Regions from separate parts of the Homo sapiens genome. Here region 1 is linked to region 2. Evidence: promoter capture Hi-C in human tissues and cell types (Jung and others, 2019). All regions are on one chromosome and are shown on one strand. Each heading gives the region's core, a stretch centred on a gene start or on the middle of the fragment in contact. The rest is flanking DNA. Distances are from core to core; before and after follow the strand shown.

Region 1 (5,250 bases), core at 1,570-4,069, 600 kb after region 2:
TCTGTTGAGACGCACAACTAGCCGGAGGTGACCTCACGGGGAAGGACTGGGGAAACACATTCTCTGAATTCACTCTCTTTCCTCTTTCTCATCTCCTGCTGCATCTTCCCATTTGCCCAAAGAGAACTGGAAGCCAAAGGGAGTGCGAGCCATTGATATTATTTACACAGACCCATCTGTCTCCAGGAGCAGAGGAAGAACGGGGAAGGGGAGGCAGTGGATCCAGAGGAGCAAACAGAACATGTCGAGCAGAGGGTACCAGAAAGTTGATAAATCAACGCTGAAATCTCAACCAGAATCCAAAGCACAACGGGGAATAGGATCATATACAAAAATAGCGTCATCAAATAATAAAACACCATGCCATTTCCACTGGAGCTTTTCTAGAGAATTCCACTTTTAAATGACATTCTGTAAAATTGTCCAAGTTGCTAAACATATAAAATTGTTGGATATCAATTTACATCAATTAAATTTGGGATGCATCTAGGAAAAATAATACTTTTGGCTTTAGAAATTGGTCCAATCTATTCTTTCTGAAAATGAATAGATAAAGATTTACAAAGGCAAATTTTACATTGTGACAATAAAATATCTTCTTTTTCATTAAGATTATTTTTAACCTACTATCATGACTGTTAAGTAGATAGCTCATAAAAAGGGTTCAGATCATTAAGGTAGGTTTAAAAGAAAGAGGACCAAAACATGCTGACTTATTCCATCCAGAATTGTTCGCTGATACATTGGGAGAATATCCCCGAGGGTTGAGTTTCATGGGGGTGAAGTGTAAGTATTGGGAATCAACATTCTCAACTGAGCACACACAGCTTGGCCCATCAATGGTTCTTTCTCACAGAGATGGAATCTAAGAGAAGGTGAGAAAAAGCTCCAAGTCAGCTTAAACTGATCTGGACAGATCGTTCCCTCTAGGTGAAAAGTCTGCCAGAGGAATCAGTGGTTGGAAGCAATATTCTCCTGTTTTGATATTTTGAAAGCCAGATCTCCCCAAAGATACAGCAAATAGAGCAGAGATTTGCATAACTCTCTTTGGTAAAATCTCTACTTTGTGTAAATACAATATTGGATGGATGGGGCAAATCCAATACTAGTTGGTTGTTAGTACCACTAAAAAACAACTTATGTTGTTAAACTTTATAAACACTTTCAGAGAATTACATAAACCTCAGAACAACATTGTGAGGCACTTTCCTCTTTCGAGGATGGAAATGTAAAACTCAAGAAGATTGAGAACGTTCTCCAGATCACCAACTGCTAGGATTAGTGTGAGAATGATGACTGGAGGGGGTGATAATCAACAGTCTTCTAAACATCTTTGTTACATGAACAAATGATACAGGTGAGAACACAGTCCTTTGCTTGTTTAGCTCCTGAGAATGCACATGAATTTAGAGGATGAACAGGGTGGGATTCCCATGCAAATCACTTCCATCTCTATGGATGTAGATGAGGATGGGGAGAGGCAGTGCCAGTGGCAGAGCAGCAGCAGGACTTCCTGGTGGCCCAGGCACCCAGTGGCTGTCAAAGCATGCCAACCTGCAGGAGCCAGACAAGCGTGGGTGGTTTGAGGTAAGTCCATGTCTCACGGATTGCCTGGGAGGCTTGGAAGCCTAACCACCCACGATGACAGGCCCTGACAGCCACAAGCAGGCATCACTAATCTGGGTCCCACTGCTCCATGCTCACTGTGTCAAAGGCTGCAGGTCAGTTGACAGCCTGGCAACCCTAAATTTGGAGTGCATCTAGGAAAAATAGTAATATTGTTTTCAGAAGTTGGCCCAATCTATTTTTTCTGAAAATGAACAAATAATAAAATGATCTATAAAGGCAACTCTCACATTGTGACAGTAAAATTCTATTGTCAATTTTATTGCTGTTACTCAGAGTGAGTCCTCTGTGTGAGGCGTCATCAGCAGGAATAACCAGGGTCATTGCTTGCCCTTTTTGGATTTTTTGTGCTAGAATCCTCTTGGGCTATTGTCAGTATGTGTCCTCCTCACCTCAGGGAAGTGAGACCTGAGTAATCACCCTTTTCACAACCCTTCTCAGAATTTTACAGAACAACTGGACTCAGTTAAGAAGCTCACAGCATCAGCATGCCTGGCAAGGAAGACCCTTTATTTCCCTTGTTAACAGGCCTGTGGTGGGCACTCAAACAACCAGATTGTCTCTCGGGAATCTCTTTGCCTTGTGAAACCTAGAAAATGTCTAGGGAATCTCTTTGCCTTGTGAAACCTAGAAAATGTCTTCAATGACAGGTGTTTTTGGAGGGGAGTTAAAGAAATAGCTTCTTCTCAATTAATGCAAAACACTGCCTCTCATTCCACCATGCAGCTCCACACATTGCTTCATGACTTTTCATCAGGCTTATGTAGCCCCAGAAGGGTACACTTTGGCAATAGGACATTGCCCTCTTCATTGTGCTTGGCAAAGCCCACTTGAGAAACGAAAGCTCCACAGAACCCCTCAAATTCATATGCTGGGCCACCCTAACTCTAATGTGAATGAGAATGGCCATAATGTGATAAAAACTTGTAAGTACCCAGCTTATTCCTCCTGAAGACCCTGAACACATTTCACACTGAGAAATATACTCTGGGCTCGATGTAAGCCATGGACAGGAAGCACTGCCATCAGCCAAGAGTAAGATTCCAGGAACTTCACCTGAAACCACTGCCAGATGAAAGCCACCTTGATTCTGTGACCATTGGAGACTTGGTTTCCTTAGTTGAATAAACACAGAATGTGGAGCTGGTAGATTCGGGATTAAAGCCCTCCACTGCCATTTAAGACGAATAGGGTTTTAGGTAGTCTTCTTAATTTCCCGAAGCTTCACTTTCTCATCTACAAAACCTGGAGATACCAATGCCTGTCTTATAGGGTTTCCAAAGCGATTAAATGTGCGCTCACAGAGAGAGGATGGGGACAAATAGCTCCCAAGGCATTCTTAACTGTGGAATCAAGATGGCCTCTTGGATCCTTGTAGCATCTCTCTAGGTGCCCAGTGGCTTTCACCTCCATGACTTCCTTGAGTCTCACACTAATCCCATGAAGGGGTTAAGAGCAGCTCTGGAACACTGTTGTGTAAGAAGAAAAAGGCACAATACTGAGAAGTTTAATGACTTTTTCCTAACATCATAACAGGTGGAACCAGGACTGATTGTTCTGCCCAAAACATTATCCAGGAAACTCTGCCAAATCATATTTTGTAAACAGTCTTACAATATCTGAACAGCAGATATTCAGGTGAGACACAAGGAAGAAGAGCTGTTCTACCCTGAAACTAGCCACAAATGAGAAGTTCTAGAATCTTCTCTGACGCTGAAGGATTTAGAAATGCCAATCATGAAAATGGCATTTCTGTTGAAAAAGTAATGATTCTTTAGCCACACCATTAACCTATTTAAAATGATGCAATCAATTTTGCTGTTAGTCATCTGCTGTGAATTATTGAGAAATAATGGCATTATGAAATATTATGAAGCCATTAAAAACAATGAGGCAGATCTATATGTGCTGAGATCAAAGGGTATCTATCAGATATTGTTTACTGAGAAATGCAGAGCAATATGTATAGTGTAATTGCATTTTTGTAAAAATAATATATACAACTTATATGGCATACCTGCTATAAGAGATCAGTAAGATTATATATCAAACTGTCAACTGGATTTGTCTCTGAGAATGTATTTGGAATGGGGATCAGGTAAAGGAATTTCAATTTTTTAAAACATTTTTTCCATTTAAAATTTTACAGTGAAGTGTATCCATCTTTTTAAACTGCAGAATATCAAAAGTCAGGAAAACAAAAAATCACATATAGTATATATAATAGATATTTATTAAATAAGAACTTAGTGAGTTTCATAATTCTGTTACAAAATATTACTATTATACTTCACATTTAATTTGGCTTTATAATATATATATTTTTAATATGCATTATGTCATTTGGGTTTTATATAACCCTCTTGAGTTGGGCAGACAGCATCTTACAAAATGGGATTTTGAGGCTCTGAGAGGTTACATCATTTTTCCAAGGTTATACATAAGTGATACTTGGACAATCTTCTTGTTACTTGACTTTTATTCTTTTACCTGAGATTTTTTGGGGCCCCTCTATGTGCTAGGCCCACTGTTCTCCCCACTACACCATATGCACTGCAATTTGCAAATAAAGATTTGAAAATACACAAGCACCATATAACTCAAAGCCTGAAAATGATAAATACAAACCTCTAACTAATGGATAACTCTTAGATGCAAATTTTATTTTGGTTACTCTCCCTATGTGCTTTTCTAATATAAGCTATAGCAGGTTTTATTTACTCAACCAAAGTTTCAGCTTGCTTTTCTGAAGAAAAGATTTGCTAGTTTCAACTTTAGCTTTTTTTCCTCTCTACCATTCACTTAAAGAGGCCATTACATGGTTTTTAGTTCATCTCTCACTTTAAAAGATAATCAAATGTCTGCACAGTCCTTTGTTTCTTTCTTCCATAGCAGATCATTTTTCCTTCATTTTTGTACGGGGAAAGGATTAGGCAGAAAAGATGTGCCAATCATCCCAAAAGACTGGAGAAGCTTATAAACTCATCCCCAAAGGGAAATTCTTTTGCCATCATGTCTCAATTAACTTAATTTCTGTGGTCTGACTTTGCAAATAGAAACTTGAGTCCATCGATGTGCTCAAAGTTAAACACCAAACAACTGCAAGCTTTAACTGTAGGGTGTTGGCTGGCTATGCTCACACAGAGGAGAACTGCAAGGAGAACTCTGTCCATAGTTATCCATTAATAAAGGCAATGCAGACAAATATGATTCATGAGGCTCCTGCTACAGAGGGATGGGTGGGCAGGAAATAAAGTCTTCTAAGGCAATGGAGTCAAGGAGGTCTGGGTTCTGGGGATAGCATTTGTTTACACACTTATTCTTTTATCCTATTTATGTAGGTGCTGCCTGTGATACAGGTATAAAAATGATTAACAAGTAGGGTTATTGCCTTCCTGGAACAATATTTTGGTGTGAAGATGGGACAACAAACCGATTTTTAAAAAATTAATTACAGATTGTAATAAATGCTAAGCAGAAAATAAGCATAATGCTATGATGGTTAATATCAATGGTGGGGGAAGGCAGGAACCTATTTAGATAGGGAGGTCAGAAAAACCTGAGAGGCAGCATCATAAACTCCTGTCATACATCATTCTAATCCCTGCTGCAAAGCAGACACAG
Region 2 (5,803 bases), core at 3,035-5,534:
CCAGAATCTGATTGTTGTTTTTTTCAGGCTTTATTTACTTCCCTGTTCATGACCCTTGCTGGCATGGATGGCATTGTGGCCAAGCAGGATTGGGAGATGCTGGAGGGAGTACAGTTGGTATAAAAGGGGTACATGGAATAAAACATGTATTTCTTCTTAAGTCTACTGATTTAATGTAAATACAGATGTATGAGAATTTTCAGAGTCTCAAAGTCACCATGGTTTTTTGATATTATTTATAGGTACTAACATTTTAAAAAATGCAGTTTTTTTGAGATCAAATTTTCACTTTTCCTATTTGGGTGGCTATTTAAAGATGCATCCAGGCACAATTCAGACATACAAGATACTTCAGTTCAGTGGTTTCTTGAATTACACCTAAAATCCAAAGGAACGTGTTTCTGAAAGTGGCTGCCAATTTTTTTTTTTAAGAGGACAATCAGCACCATCTAGTGGACACAAATATCTCCTCTTCTAGAATTCGGACCCCTGAGGAGATGGAGGGCAGGCTTTGGAACCTAGGTTGGAATCCCGGTGCCAGTTAGTTCCCCAACGACCTTGGGACAATTACTTACCCTTTAGGTGCTCTGCTTCTCAACTCTAAATCCAGGTAATACTAGTGCCGACTCATAGAATGTTATGAATGAAGTGAAATGATGCTTGGAAGGCAAGTCTGAAACACTTTGTAAATGCAGTTTTTCAATAACACTAAGCATAGATTCACAGGACATGGGAACTATCCAGTGGTAAACACTATTATCTGCTCTCCAGTAGGAATGGCTATTATACACAAAATCCAGTGTGTAGAATCTACGATATGAGGCTTAATGAGATCCCTCTCCTACCATATTGTTACATTCGGTTGAAGTTTATGGTGAGGAAAGGGCAACCGGGGCAACAAGGCTGAAATGGTAGTTGGTGCCCAGATGGCAAACAATGCTCTTGCTCGCTTTCATTCATTCAAATCTGACTCCACTCGGAAGGAGGATGTCAAGAGTAGGGAGAGACTGCAAACAAAAACAAAAGCTAACTCCGAAACTAACACTGCCACTGCCATATGTCACCAACCTGGAATGAGACCAGGGAAATTTTAGCTTCAAATATCTTGACTCTAGAAGAAATTTTTATGAATGACTTTGAAGGGCACAACACTTTCCAGGATGTGTTTGCGATTTTTGAAAATGGAACTGCAGAAAACACAGTATAGACATTTGGTGCTCTCGGACTTATATCCCCGTGCTGTTTTGAGGGTGTCACCTGCAATAGCTGACACAGAAGTATCTGGGGAAATTAAAAACAAATACACAACAAATGCAATTTATTAAAGCTGGCCCTTAAGGCACACACAGCCTCTCGGCAGTTTACAAAATGGAAGCAGCAGGAGGTAAATAAACACGTGAGAGTGACACAGAGACAAAACAATTCAAAATGAGATAAATAGTTTTATGCAAATATAGTCAATAGGGACTTAGTCTGGAAAGGTTACAAACAGTGAAGAGACACAAAGTTTACGTGGAACCCGAATTTTATTTTCACTTGCTTTATATGCATCTTATGTTGCATTTTAAAAACAACAGTTAAAAAAATGAAAACAGCAGTAATCATAGGTCCGCTTTTTCTTAGTTCAGCCCCTTCCCCCCCCGAGAAATTGGGAAGGTATTGTTTTCTTAGTGGACACTATTAGTCACCAAATTAAAAACTGGAAAGAATGGCCTTCGTTTATGGTGTATGAGAACCGTGCAGGCACTTGGCAATGATCTCGTCTTGCCGCTAGGTAAACAGCGGTCGGTGGACGGGGAGCATTGGCATCATCTAGGAGCCTGTTAGTCTCAGGTCTCACCTGATACTGAATCAACATTTTTTTTTTTGAATCAGCATTTTTAACAAGATTCCTCGGTGATTTGTCTGCACATTAAAGTTGAGAAGGCCTAGATTCATTTGATCTCAGGTACACCCCTGGTTGTGTAGTTTATGAAGTCTCCCCAGGTGATTCTAATGCTCTGTGCAGTTAAGCACTGCAAAACTAGTCCAACTTCATTTTTCAAATGAAGAAACTGTGGCCCACAAAAGCTTATGTATTTACCTAAGATAACCTAGCTGTTTAATATCAAAATCCAAATAATGTCATCTCTCTTCTTCATAAAAAAATAAAGCAGGGTTGAGGGGACAGAGGGTAGGGAGTGTGGAGATGGGGATAATTATTTTATACAGGGTGGTTGGGAAAGGCCCTCCTGAGGAAGCGGACGCCTGAGGAAAGAGAGGAGCAAACCAGGTGGATAGCTGGGAAACTGTATTTCAGGCTGGTGTGTGTGTGTGTGTATTTGGACTGGAGGAACAACAAGTGTTTCCAAATTCCTGACAGATACTGATCTTTGGGATGCAGAAACAGGAAATCAGAATTACCAGCTGTTCTCAAAATCTTATTCTTAAAATATTCTCTACCTTCTTCATATTCTTTACTCATTATTACAAGTATCTGAAGCCTTTGTTTAAAAAATGAGAACTATTAAATTTAGAAGTGTTTACAAGAAGTGGGGTTTATAGCAAATATTCAAATGCTGGAAAACACAGAGAACATTATTGAGGAGTATTCAAATAATAGATCTCCTAGCAGGGTTAACTGTACTACCCAGAATCATGGGTTGGAAACTGTCAATTTAAGGATTTACTTTGAATCCAAAACCCGTTACTTTTTTGAACACTGCTCATAGAATTTGTATAAAGTATACAATGAGTATCAACCTATTTATATTTTATTTGCAAGAATGACTCACTGCCAGCGGCACACAGGGCCAGGAACATAGGCTTTCATGGCACCAACTACAAACAAGACTGACTGATGAGATTGTGGCCATGTCTCTCCCAAGTGCTCCTGACCTGGTTCCTGAAAATGTTCACCTCAACCTCGAACTCAGCATTTCCTGTGCTGGTTTTCAACTTGACATTGGTGAATTTCTTCAGTAACATCTCTAGGTCGGCTGCTAAGTTTTAATTCTCATAGGAGGATTAGGATACTTTCTCCCATTTTCTTCAGTTTGCAACTTTTTTTCTTTTGAGATTTGGAAAGCCACATAAATTCCCTGAGAAATGCTGGGAAGAAATCCCTGCACAGAAACACTAACAATGAGGACAGTGAGGCTGGAACCAGGTTTACCAGGGGAAAGCAGTAGGTAGGAGTGGAGGTCAGAGAGCCAACAGAAAGCCTTATCATTTAGAGATGATGTCAGTATGAACCTGAATGGAAGCACTGAAGTTGTGACGAATGTTTGGATTCTGAATATATTTTGAATGTTGAGCTGATAGGACAAATAGATTGTAGAGTGAGAGAGGAAGAAGAATTGAGGATGACTCCAAGGTTTTTGGTCTAGGCATGGCAGGCTGAAATTACCATTTGCTGAGATGGATAGAAAGTGGGTGGGGGACTCTGGAGAAGTTGTTTTTTCCCGTGTTAAGTTTGAGATGCTTACACATCTAAGTGGATATGCCAAATAGGCAGTTAGGTAAAGGAGTCTGGAGTTCAGGGAAGTCTGGGCTGGTGATAAGATGCAGGATTCAGGAGCATAGGGATGGCATTTATAGCCAGGTTTTTATACCCAGCACTCGCCTAGACTGCAGCTGTGTTCTTTCGGCAACTCAGCCTACGACTATTTGCTTCGCTGAAAAAAAACCACATCGTACCTAGTTAAAACAATGAGGACAAAGGGGCCATGAATGTGAAAATGCCCTGTAAACGGTAATGTGCTGTTCAGACTGGAAAGCAGGAGAAATGATGGCAATGGAGGTGAGGAAAATCAGTTTGTGGACGTAGGGAAATAATTTTCGTGCACTGAGAATTAGAGAAACTACGAAATGAAAGAAGGTGCAAAAAGCAATTATAACTCTTTTTGGACTGTAGCCGAATCTGTGCAAAACTCATATTTTTAAAATTTCCATAGCACCCCAAATTTACTAGAGCTTCACATACATGGTCTTTTTGAGCTGCACAAGTCTTGTAAGAAGGGAATTATTATTGTTCCCATTTTACGGAGGAGGAAACTGTGCTCGGAGAGGATAACTGACCTGTAAGGCATCACAGCAATATGAGGGACAGAGATACACAAGCATCCAGACGTCCGCGTTCCGAATCCAACCTAAAGACGAAAAATCGCTCCCAACCCCCACCGTCGGCAGCGAAGACGGAAGGACACACGCCGGCCGTCCCAGCTCGCAGGGCTCCAACAGCCGCCGGCCCCGGTCCCATTTCCGGATGGTACAGCCCTTTCCGCTATCGCGAGACCGGAAGCATCGCGCATCTGGTTGCCAGGGAAACAGCGGTCCCACAGGCAGGAGGGATCTGGACCGGCGGCTTCTTCCACTACCAGAGAGGCTGAGGTGGCGGGAGAGACCCCTCTCCTCTGGGGGTAAGTGGCTGGCGCGGCGAGTGTCTGCGGCGCGCTTCTGCGGCCATCTGCGCCCTGACTGACGGCGGCCAGTTCCTCGAGGAGGCCCGGCGGGAAGGTGAGGGGCCGCGCAGATGAGGGCGGAGCTCGGTCGCGGGGCGGTGCGCCGAGGAGTGGGCGGGGCGGAGCTGCGTCGGGCCGCTTGGCATGTAGATGGACTGTCAGGGAGAGCGGACAGGGCCAATGAGAGGGCGGGGGCGGGCTCATTGGGGGCGGGGCCCCAGCGGCTTCTGCCTCCGCGGAGGCTATTTCTCCAGGAATCACCTAACATTAGGACCTGTAACCAAGGCTTCTACTTTCCCGAGATTTGGATCTTCCCACCAAGATCTAGAACTGATCACCAGCCATTTAAACTAGACCGTAAACGGCAAAGGATGCAAATAGGCATTTCACAGGAAAAATAAAAAGATGCAAACAGCAAACAATTGATTAGAGACTCAACTTTTCTCGTGAAGAAATGTAAACCAAATTCACAGATACCTTTTACACCTATGAGACTGGAGAAGATGAAACAGCTTTGACATAACCAGATGGGCCCCAGCCCAGTGTAGGGGAAGTAGTGTAATTTGGTGCAGCCTTTTTGGAGTACAATTTGGCGAACTACCAAAATTTGAAACATAAGTGTTCTTTGACTCAGCAATTCTAATATATTTTATGGATGTATGAGCATAACTAAAGAAAGATTGGCACAAATATATTAACTTAAAATTGAGGTATAACTTACTTATGGTAAGCCTCACCCATTTAATCTACAGTTCTGTGAGTTTTGACAAATGTATACAGTTATGTAATTACCAACCACCACAATCAGCATACGGAAGTTTCATCATGAACCCCAAATTCCCTAGTGCTCTTTGTATTTAATCCCTCCCCTAACGCCATCCCTGGCAACAACTTCCTAGTTTTTTGTTCCTGTAATTTTGCCTATTCCAGAATGTCATATTGATGGAAGCAAACACCCTGTGGCCTTTTGAATCAGGCTTCTTTCAGCTTAGCATCATGCAGTTGCTATTCATTCATGTTCTGTGTATCAGTTGTTCCTTTATGTTGCTGAGTAATAGTCCATTGTATGGATCTACGGTAGTATATTTATCCATTTCCTACTTGAGGCATATTTGGATGAGTTCTTTCCAGTTGTTGGCTATTATTGATGAAGCTGGTATAAATATTCATGTACAGGTTTTTTTTTGTGTGTGTGAATATGTTTTCATTTCTTGGGTAAATATGAATGAGATTGTGGAGTCATATGGTAAATATATGTTTAACTTTATAAGAAACTGCTAAGCAGTTTTGAAAAGTGATGATTTTGCATTGTCATTGGCAATATGAGTGTTACAGTTGCTCTCCAACTTTGTCAGCACTTG

Evidence for each region. The method cuts DNA at HindIII sites, captures the fragments that hold promoters and counts their contacts. A contact is called where the count stands out against the background at its distance.
Region 1: a fragment that was not itself captured here is called in contact with the fragment with the promoter of FSIP1 in region 2 in 3 of the 25 tissues and cell types used here (IMR-90 fibroblasts, hippocampus and lymphoblastoid cells).

What each region holds. Positions count from the first base shown.
Region 1 is chr15:39,181,571-39,186,820 of GRCh38, reverse strand. All of the region lies in intron 1 of LOC105370777 (a long non-coding RNA gene), which reads left to right. Among named protein-coding and RNA genes, the nearest start is that of LINC02915, 66 kb to the left of the region's middle. The HindIII fragment of the contact is 5,782 bases long and covers 1-5,250 here.
Region 2 is chr15:39,781,322-39,787,124 of GRCh38, reverse strand. It overlaps FSIP1 (fibrous sheath interacting protein 1), which reads left to right and starts at 4,284. Exons shown (of 12, transcript NM_152597.5): 1 at 4,284-4,497. LOC105370941 (a long non-coding RNA gene) reads right to left here and starts at 4,219. Exons shown (of 1, transcript NR_135665.1): 1 at 1,508-4,219. RefSeq lists an enhancer at 4,045-4,174 and a silencer at 4,475-4,654. The HindIII fragment of the contact is 15,521 bases long and covers 651-5,803 here.